2 separate regions of the Homo sapiens genome follow, and region 1 is linked to region 2. The links are contacts of gene promoters, found by promoter capture Hi-C in human tissues and cell types (Jung and others, 2019). All regions are on one chromosome and are shown on one strand. The core of a region is centred on a gene start or on the middle of the fragment in contact, and the rest is flanking DNA. Distances in the headings are between cores, read along the strand shown.

Region 1 (4,926 bases), core at 1,806-4,305, 130 kb before region 2:
CAAAAAATTAGCTGGGCATGGTGGCCTGCACCTGTAGTCCCAGCTACTTGGGAGGCTGAGGCAGGAGAATGGCGTGAACCCGCAAGGTGGAGCTTGCAGTGAGCCAAGATCGCACAACTGAACTCCAGCCTGGGCGACAGAGTGAGACTCCGTCTCAAAAAAAAAAAAAAAAAGCTTTAGTATATATTAATGTATTTCATTTTCATAAAAGTCATGTATTAGAGGGTTATTATGAAAATTAAATATATGTGAGCTTCAGAAAAATTCCTGGCACATTGTAAAATGGGCACTACTATTACAGTCCATTTCCATTATTCACACCTTCTGTATTTGCATATTTACCTACTCAAAATTTATGTGTATCCCCCAAATCCATGTGCGTGGTTTCTCGTAGTCATTTGAAGACATGAGCTGATATGGTTTGGCTCTGTGTCCCCACCAAAACCTCATCTTGTAGCTCCCATAATTCCCACGTGTTGAGGGAGGGACCTGGTGGGAGATGACTGATTCATGGGGCAGGTCCTTCCTGTGCTGTTCTAGTGATAGTTAATGGGTCTCATGAGATATGATGGTTTTAAAATCGGGAGTTTCCCTGCACAAACTCTCTTTGCCTGCTGCCATCCACATAAGATGTGACTTGCTCCTCCATGCCTTCCTCCATGATTGTGAGGCCTCCCCAGCCACGTGGAATTGTAAATCCAATACACCTCTTTCTTTTGTAAATTGCCCAGTCTCAGGTATGTCTTTATCAGCAGCATGAGTAAAATTGAGTTACTCATGTTCCCAGCTGAGGAAGGACAAGGTGACACTGCCTTCTTGTTTCAGCTCTCATACTGTAAACGAGTGTCCTTTTCACAGTTGATTTACTGCCATGTTTTTAACACTTTTGTGCTTTTTGTTGAAGATTTTGCCATTTAAAATGGCTCCCAAGCATAGTTCTGAAGTGCTCTTTGGTGTTCCTAAATGCAATAAGGCTGTGAAGTACCTTATGGAAAAAAATATGTGTTAGGTAAGCTTGGTTCAGGCATGGGTTATAATGCTGTTGGCCATGAGTTCAATTTTAATGAATCAACAATATATATTAAATAAAGAATTCTTAACCAGAAGCACACAATAACCAAGTAGACTGGTGGACCGTCTGAAAGTTGATGAAAATGTGACCAGAGGCTTGCACAACCCTAAGCCAGGATTTCTCTGAGCAGCAGTGAAAACAGTATTTGCTAATTCAGTGAATCTGGCAACTTCATAGAACACAAGTGCCACAGACAACAATAATTTAATGTACAGTTGTCCCTTGATATCCACAGGGGATTCGTTTCAGGACCCCTGAGGATACCAAAATCTGGGGATGCTCAAGTCCCTTATCTAAAATGGCGCAGTGTTTACTATAACCTATGCACATCCTCCCATACGATTTAAATCATCTCTGGATTACTTATAACACCTAGCACAATATAAATACCATGTAAATAGTTGTTATACTGTGCTGTTTTAATTATTATTTAATTAAATTAATTAATTATTTTATTTATTTTTGAGATGGAGTCTTGCTCTGTCACCCAGGCTGTAGTGCAGTGGAGCAATCTTGCTCACTGCAGCCTCTGCTTCCTGGTTCAAGAGATTCTCGTGCCTCGCCCTCCTGAGTAGCAGGGGCTACAGGAGTGCACCACCATGCCTAATTTTTGTGTTTTTAGTAGAGACAGGGTTTCACCATGTTGGCCAGGCTGGTCTCAAACTTCTGACCTCAAGTGATCCGCCTGCCTTGGCCTCCCAAATTGTTGGGATTACAGGTGTGAGCCACTGAACTTGGCCAGTTTTTATTATTTTTATAGTTGTATTATATTTTTCATGTTTCCAAATATCTTTCATCTGCTGTTGGTTGAATCTATAGATGTGGAACCTGTGGATATAAAGGGCTAACTGCAGTTCTCTTTTCACTCACCTATCAACTCCTTGAGATAGTGGTTTTCACTCAGCATTTTCATGTAATCACAATTCCTCCCTCCAAATATCTTATCATCTGACTCACATTTCCACCATATGACATTCTCAGAGAACCAGAGACGGGTTTGGCCAGACATCAGAACTAATGAGAAGGAGGGACTCCCTCAGGACTTTCTGTGTGTTTGTGTCTTTCTTCCTTCTTTTCCTTTATAGTTTAACTTTCTCTAGATATTTAGTCTACATGGCAGAGAGTATGGCTGCCAATAGCCATTGATTTTCACATCCTACCATCCAAATAACCAAGGAGACTGTCTGAATCTCTCCTCAGGCCCATACATCCTGAGAAAGCTTGAGTCAGGTGCCCCTGGCTGTGACTAGAACGTGTGTGTGGTACTGTGAAGTGTGTAGTATTCTGGCTACAACTCTGGGTGATAATTAAATCTACAACTGCATAGCCTAATACAGTAGCCACTTGTCACATGTGGCAATTTATATTTAAATATTAAGTAAAATTAAATAAAATTTAAAAATCTTCAGCCACACTGGTCATGCTTCCAGTGCTCAGCAGCCAAGTGTGGCTATTAGCTGCTCTCTTAGAACAGATATAGAACATCTCCATCATCGCAAGAAGTTCTATTGGACAATACTGCTATAGATGAAGAGGAATCTCTCAGAAAAGAGATTAGGGTTAGAAAGGAGTATTTCTTACCATTTGACCCAGCCATCCCATTACTGGGTATATACCCAAAAGATTATAAATCATGCTGCTATAAAGACACATCCACATGTATGTCTATTGCGGCACTATTCACAATAGCAAAGACTTGGAACCAACCTGAATGTCCAACAATGATGGACTGGATTAAGAAAATGTGGCACATATACACCATGGAATACTATGCAGCCATAAAAAATGATGAGTTCATGTCCTTTGTAGGGACATGGATGAAGCTGGAAACCATCATTCTCAGCAAACTATCGCAAGGACAAAACATCAAACACCGCATGTTCTCACTCATAGGTGGGAATTGAACAGTGAGAACACATGGACACAGGAAGGGGAACATCACACACTGGGGCCTGTTGTGGGGTGGGGGAAGGGGGGAGGGATAGCATTAGGAGATATACCTAATGTTAATGATGAGTTAATGGGTGCAGCACACCAACATGGCACATGTATACGTATGTAACAAACCTGCACGTTGTGCACATGTACCCTAAAACTTAAAGTATAATAAAAATAAAAATAAAAGAAAGGAGTATTTCTGAGCAGATAAATCTGTAGGTGTTTCTCATACCTTCTCTGCCATAGTCGATAAAACTGACCCAGACTCTTTGCAACAATTTCTTCCTCTGGCACTTAGAACATTTTTATATTCTCACAATTGCCCTGTGATTCTTCCCCTTTCAGTTTTCACCCTCCCCTAAGTATCTGGACTGTTCCTGTGTTTTGTAATACCACTGTATATTGCTGACTTCTAAATTTACATCTGTCTCAGACCCTTCTTCTTAGCTCCAGACCCACAGACCTAACTGCCTACTTAATATCTCCAATTGGATATATCAAATGTCACTTGGAATTAATACCTCACACTGAATTCTTAATCTATCCTAAATCTCCTTCTCTTTGCATGTCCCCCATCTCAATAAATGGCACCTCTATCTGCACAGTTTGTTATGCCAGAAGCCTTGGAAAAATCCTTGCTATCTTCTATCTTCTTTTGCCTCAGTCTAATATATCCCCAACTCTGATAAATTAAAGATTCAAACTATTTCTTTAATATAGCTAGATTTTTTTTCATTTTTATTGCTACCATTTAATGTCACACTCTCCTTTCACTTTGCTTCTAACATTTATTCAACTTTCTGTTCCTGCTCTAATGTCATCTTCTCACAGAACCCTTCCTTGTCCTCTGATCTGGATTCCACCTTTTACTGTCATCACACATTATGCTTTTGCTTTTCACAAATGTATTGGGTTACATATGTAATTATTTGTTTAGTGTCTAGTCTTCTCTAGCCTCATGTAATGTCTTCTCTAGCTTGATAAAGGCAGGAAATACGTTTGTTTTATTTTCCTGTGAATCTGCTGTATTTAGCACAGGGCTGGACCTTTAGCCCTCAGTCAGTACTTAATACCTTTTCAGAACACATTTTTATGAGCTTTAGAAACTAGTCTTCTTCCCTCTTAATGGTTATGGAGGTCTTTCAGGTTCTGTGTATCTTCTTATGGTTTCAGCTTTGACCCTGAGAATGACTCCCTTTCAATGTTACAAGACCTGGCTCCTCTTCTTGGAGACATGCTTGCAAAATTCACCCCTCCTTCCTGCCTCCCTGGTTTTCCCACAAGAATTCTCTTGAACTCACATGACTTCTTCCTACAGGAGATCTCCAAGCCTGCACCTCCAGCCCATCCAACCACAAAGAACTTTGAAACCTCTTAACCTGTCTTGTCATCTTAGTTCATGCAAATAGCAACCCCTAGAGATTTGTAGTGCACAGCCTGAACAACCACAGGGGCAAACTTCCCTTCCTGTCTCTGAAGTCTCGCTTTATCCTTATTGTCTCACCCCTAGAACTTCAAGGAGCCTCATAACTCATAGCCCAATCCCTACTCTTTCTGTAGACCCATTTTCGAAAATGCAGAATTGCAGAATTGTTCTGCCGGAAGACACCTCCAGAACATCTTACATATCTGAGTGTGTAAATGAGGAAACATAGGTTTAGAAAGTGGCAGGCTAGTCACTACAACCAAGACCTTCTAACTTTCTGTCTGGTGCTCTATGACACATACAGCCCCCACTGTGCTCAGAGGTCCTCATGGAGCTTCCTTTACTAAATGTAAAAGACTAAATTCATTTGCCTACAGTTTCCTTTTCTTTCCTTTCGATCACTTTATATTTTCTGAACTGCCCACACTTACCTTATGCATTTTTGCTGGGAGACCTTTGTTCTTCCTGTTGATCTTACCTAGAATATCTT
Region 2 (5,053 bases), core at 574-3,073:
TATTTTTAGTAGAGACAGGGTTTCACCATGTTAGCCAGGATGGTCTCGATCTCCTGACCTCTTGATCCGCCCACCCTGGCCTCCCAAACTGCTGGGATTACAGGCATGAGCCACCGCGCCAGGCAGCAAAACACTTTATTAAACATAGAGAAAAATAACTGGCATGCAAGGATTTCTACCCAATCATCATTTGCCTTGAAGGACTTTTCACCATGACAGCCTTGTATGTGTGTGTGTGTAAGTGGGGGTGGGGGAGAGTAGGGAGAAGGTGGCTGTGCCCAAATGTCAGAGAGAGGCATATTGGCCTCTAGGGTGGCATCCTTAATGAATTTTCCTACAGAACTGATGTCAAATGGGTCACCTCAAAGGTTCATCTCACTCATTCATTCATTCCCCTTCAAGGCAATGGCCCATCTACCCTATATCCCATTTTAGAGACCCTCTGTGTTATCCACACATTCCACTTTTTTACACTCCCCACCTCCAAGGGGTATGCACACTCTGTCCATTTTACTCAAGAAACATGTTTATTCTCTACTGCTTTGGCTTTGGGCCTCCTGACTTTCCACACTCTAGCAACAGCTCCCTCTTTGAACCACTGGAAAAGCCTCCTGACTGGCCCTCCTGCCACATTATGTCCTCCATGTGTTGCAAGAAGCCTCTTCCTTAAGTCAATTTAAAAAAAAAAATCACAAACACCTGCTTCAAATCTTTTCCCTTTCCTTTCCTTCCTTACTTCTTTTTCTTTTTTTTTTTTTTTTTTTTTGGAGGAGGAATTCTTGCTAATTGATAATATTTAATATTTAAACTCCGTAGATTCACATATGACTTCATCAATTGGCTCAACTAATTTTTTTCCAGCTTCATATCCTGGTATTCAAAGTCATGTACAATTTTTTTATTGCACAAAATGTCTCATCTTTCTCTAGAAATAACAGCCCTTGCCATAAATTCCTGCTTTTGTAACATGAAACTGCTTTCCTTTGGAGTGAGACCACTTTGCACCTGGAAGATGCTCATCCTTCAACATCCAGCTTGTCTCCTCCTTAGGAAAATATCCTCTGTTCTGTTGGTGATACTAAAGGCAGTACCCTGAACATGTCTTTGTAAAAGATTTTGCCTTTAGTATTGTGATTACCCATTCACCTGTCTATCCCTTTCCAGAAATGTGAGCTCCTCAAGGGCAGGCTCCAAATCTGACTTTCCTACTATGCACATAGAATGGTACTTGCCATGTAAGAAACAAATCCTTACTGTTTGGGGAAAAAACAAAAGTACAAAGAATACAACTCTAAAATGAACAAAACAAATGATAATATGCTGTTTAGAAAGTGTTGAAAAACTAGGCATGGTGGCTCACACCTGTAATTCCAGCACTTTGGGAGGCCGAAGTGTGGGGGATTGCTTGAGCCCAGGAGTTGGAGGCCAGCCCGGACAACACAGTGAGACCCCAAATCTATTAAAAAAAAATACAACAATTAGCCGGGCATGGTAGACTGTGCCTGTAGTTCCAGCTTTTCAGGAGGCTGAGAGAGGAGGACTGCTTGAGCCTACGAGGTCGAGGCTACAGTGAGCTGTGATTATGCCACTGTACTCCAGCCTGGGTGACAGGATAAGATCCTGTCTCAAAAAAAAATGTGTTGAAATCATTTCTTTCATATCATGTGTTAAATAGGCTTTGAAGGGCTGGCCTTGAAACCTGACAGCTTTGAGCCATCGTGTATCCATGGGAGTAGGCATTCTAGGTTCCAAACAGCACACTTAGAAATGGACTTTGGAACACAACGTGCTACCTCAAGGCTCCACCTGGCCACACAGCAGGCACTGAGGCTGGGAGACAGCCCCCAGACAGATGAGTGTCCGCGCCTCTCTGAGAGGTGAATGAGCCCGGACGGTCCCTACCTACCAAGTCCTGAGGAGCAGCGGCACCAACGACGCAGGCCCGCCCCAGCCCGCCAGTGAGCCGCCCATGCCCTCTGCTAGCCCGGCCCGCCCGGGCCCCCGCCATGCTGATCACCGTGTACTGCGTGCGGAGGGACCTCTCCGAGGTCACCTTCTCTCTCCAGGTCAGCCCCGACTTTGAGCTCCGAAACTTCAAGGTCCTCTGCGAAGCGGAGTCCAGAGTCCCCGTCGAAGAGATCCAGATCATCCACATGGAGCGACTCCTCATCGAGGACCACTGTTCCCTGGGCTCCTACGGCCTCAAAGATGGCGATATCGTGGTTTTACTGCAGAAGGACAATGTGGGACCTCGGGCTCCAGGGCGTGCCCCGAACCAGCCTCGTGTAGACTTCAGTGGCATTGCGGTGCCTGGGACGTCCAGCTCCCGTCCACAGCACCCTGGACAGCAGCAGCAGCGCACACCCGCTGCCCAGCGGTCACAGGGCTTGGCGTCAGGAGAGAAGGTGGCCGGCCTGCAAGGTCTGGGCAGCCCCGCCCTGATCCGCAGCATGCTGCTCTCCAACCCCCACGATCTGTCCCTGCTCAAGGAACGCAACCCTCCCTTGGCGGAAGCCCTGCTCAGCGGAAGCCTTGAGACCTTTTCTCAGGTGCTGATGGAGCAGCAAAGGGAAAAGGCCTTGAGAGAGCAAGAGAGGCTTCGTCTCTACACAGCCGACCCACTGGATCGGGAAGCTCAGGCCAAAATAGAAGAGGAAATCCGGCAGCAAAACATTGAAGAAAACATGAATATAGCGATAGAAGAGGCCCCCGAGAGTTTTGGACAAGTGACGATGCTCTACATTAACTGCAAAGTGAATGGGCATCCTTTGAAGGCTTTTGTTGACTCGGGCGCCCAGATGACCATTATGAGCCAGGCTTGTGCCGAGCGATGTAACATCATGAGGCTGGTGGACCGACGGTGGGCTGGGGTTGCTAAAGGAGTGGGCACACAGAGAATTATTGGCCGTGTTCATCTAGCTCAGATTCAAATTGAAGGTGATTTCTTACAGTGCTCTTTCTCCATACTTGAGGATCAACCCATGGATATGCTTCTAGGCCTAGATATGCTCCGGAGACATCAATGTTCCATCGATTTGAAGAAAAATGTGCTGGTCATCGGCACCACTGGCACGCAGACTTATTTTCTTCCTGAGGGAGAGTTGCCCTTATGCTCTAGGATGGTAAGTGGGCAAGATGAGTCTTCGGACAAGGAAATTACACATTCAGTCATGGATTCAGGACGAAAAGAGCATTAAAGCACGTTATAAATATGTTACCACCTTGAGGGAGCCTCAGGTCCCCGGCAATTATAAGTTAAGAGCTTACTGGCAATGTAATCATTAAAAAACATCAGTAACAACTAAACCTGGCCTTGGGACTACGTTCTCAGATGGGTAACTAACGTCAATCCTGATTCCTTGGTCTTGGTCCCTCTTCCATTTCCCTTGTCCAGAGATCACTGAAAGGCATCCTGGGAAGGCTCTGGAGGCTCCAGCTGATTTCCAGATAATCCATGAAAAAGAAAACCAGCTTCTTCCTTTAGAGACACTATCCTATCAGATTACAGGTGGCTTATCCAAATCATTGCTATTTTGCAGAATTCCCTGGAAAAATGCTATGGCTGCAGACCTTACAAGGCATCCACATAAAACTATTTCACATCAGCACTAATAATTCTTTCTACTGAGAGAAATATGCCCATTTTCACAGGTTTTGTTTTCTTTGGGAAGGGTATTAGAAATGGTAGGTCAGTTACACTATGATGTTAACTAATACTTATACATGTCTGTTTGGGGCAGCATAAAGACCAATTTCCTCATATTTACACCTTCCCTTCCCCTGGATCCCCTGCAGTCACCCTGCAATCCACAGCTAAAGACTATTTTTGCCATATTTGAGAAAGTGGATTTATCTCCAAGGATGCTACATTAATTTTCTATTTCTCCTGCATTCAAAGAAACTCTGGCTATAAAACAAAGGCAATAAATTAGATTTTTTAAAAAAGAAATTATGGTACTTCTTGGGAGTCAAGTTGTACAGTGGTGGGAATGAGAGGTGGGGACAGGCAGTGGTCCAGGTTCTCTAATAGTCATTGCAACTAGATCATCTCTCTCTCTTTTTCAAAGTAAAAATCTGCTTTATACATTAAGCTGCTGCTACATCAGTATTGTTTGAACAAAGGTTTTCACTGTTAAAATAACATTTGAAAACTTTTGAATGAGAAGATCTCTAAGGCCTCATTCAGAATTATCCATTCTGACAATGTTAGTGTTTATTACAACTGACAGTGGGTAATGGAAGATCCTAGACTTAATTACAACCCATGGCTAAAGCACCTGAGAGAAAAGTTTCAGCTTCCTGAGGCCATCAGATGCAGGGGAAATGTTTCAGGACAATAATTTATCAAAACTAGTATTAAAACAGCGGATTCAAAATCAAGATGTGTATGTTTTGATTACACTTAATTACTTAGACAAATTAGTTCACCTACTTTACAACTGAGATTCCTCACCTAATAATTTTTTTTTTCCTGGGAGGGGTCACTTTTCAAGCACTAAAACCTCATTATCTTAAAGGATCTGGGATATCCTTTAAGTTATTCTATTTTCCCGACAAGATATAAAGCCACATAAAGCATTCCCAAAGGATACAGAAAAAAATAACTCTCCCTTATAATCTCCATATACTTTTTGTTTTGCTTCTTGGTAATACTAATCAACCTTTCTAAAGAGAGTCACCTCTTCCTTTCTAGCCACCATCAGTTCACCTCCCATTTTTCTTCTCTATAGGTGTTCCCATGCTCACATTTCCCAGTCTGGTCTACATTTGCACAAAGTTTTATACCCAGTAGAACTACTAAAAATGATCAAATGAACAGATTTCTTTCCTACTTTTGTTTGTAATTAAGAACTCAAAACAAATGCAATTAACAAAAAAAGACATTCAGAGTAAAGTCAGGGATAAGCAAAATGCTTATGAATAAATTTAAATTGCCCTGATAAATTCATGGATTATCTCACTGACAAAAATATGCAAAGTCCTCAGCATCTTCTGAATTCAATTTTAAGGTTCATTTATGAAAAAAAGGTCTTATTTGCATATATCACATGGG

Evidence for each region. The method cuts DNA at HindIII sites, captures the fragments that hold promoters and counts their contacts. A contact is called where the count stands out against the background at its distance.
Region 1: a fragment that was not itself captured here is called in contact with the fragment with the promoter of DDI1 in region 2 in 2 of the 25 tissues and cell types used here (adrenal gland and mesendoderm cells).

The regions. Positions count from the first base shown.
Region 1 is chr11:103,899,813-103,904,738 of GRCh38, forward strand. It overlaps PDGFDDN (PDGFD downstream neighbor), which reads right to left. Exons shown (of 4, transcript XR_947960.3): 1 at 4,868-4,926. Among named protein-coding and RNA genes, the nearest start is that of PDGFDDN, 4.6 kb to the right of the region's middle. RefSeq lists enhancers at 4,239-4,328, 4,749-4,918. The HindIII fragment of the contact is 4,922 bases long and covers 595-4,926 here.
Region 2 is chr11:104,034,817-104,039,869 of GRCh38, forward strand. DDI1 (DDI proteasomal shuttling factor 1) reads left to right here and starts at 1,824. Exons shown (of 1, transcript NM_001001711.3): 1 at 1,824-4,380. The coding sequence starts at 2,007. The coding sequence ends at 3,197. All of the region lies in intron 1 of PDGFD (platelet derived growth factor D), which reads right to left. The HindIII fragment of the contact is 14,414 bases long and covers 1-5,053 here.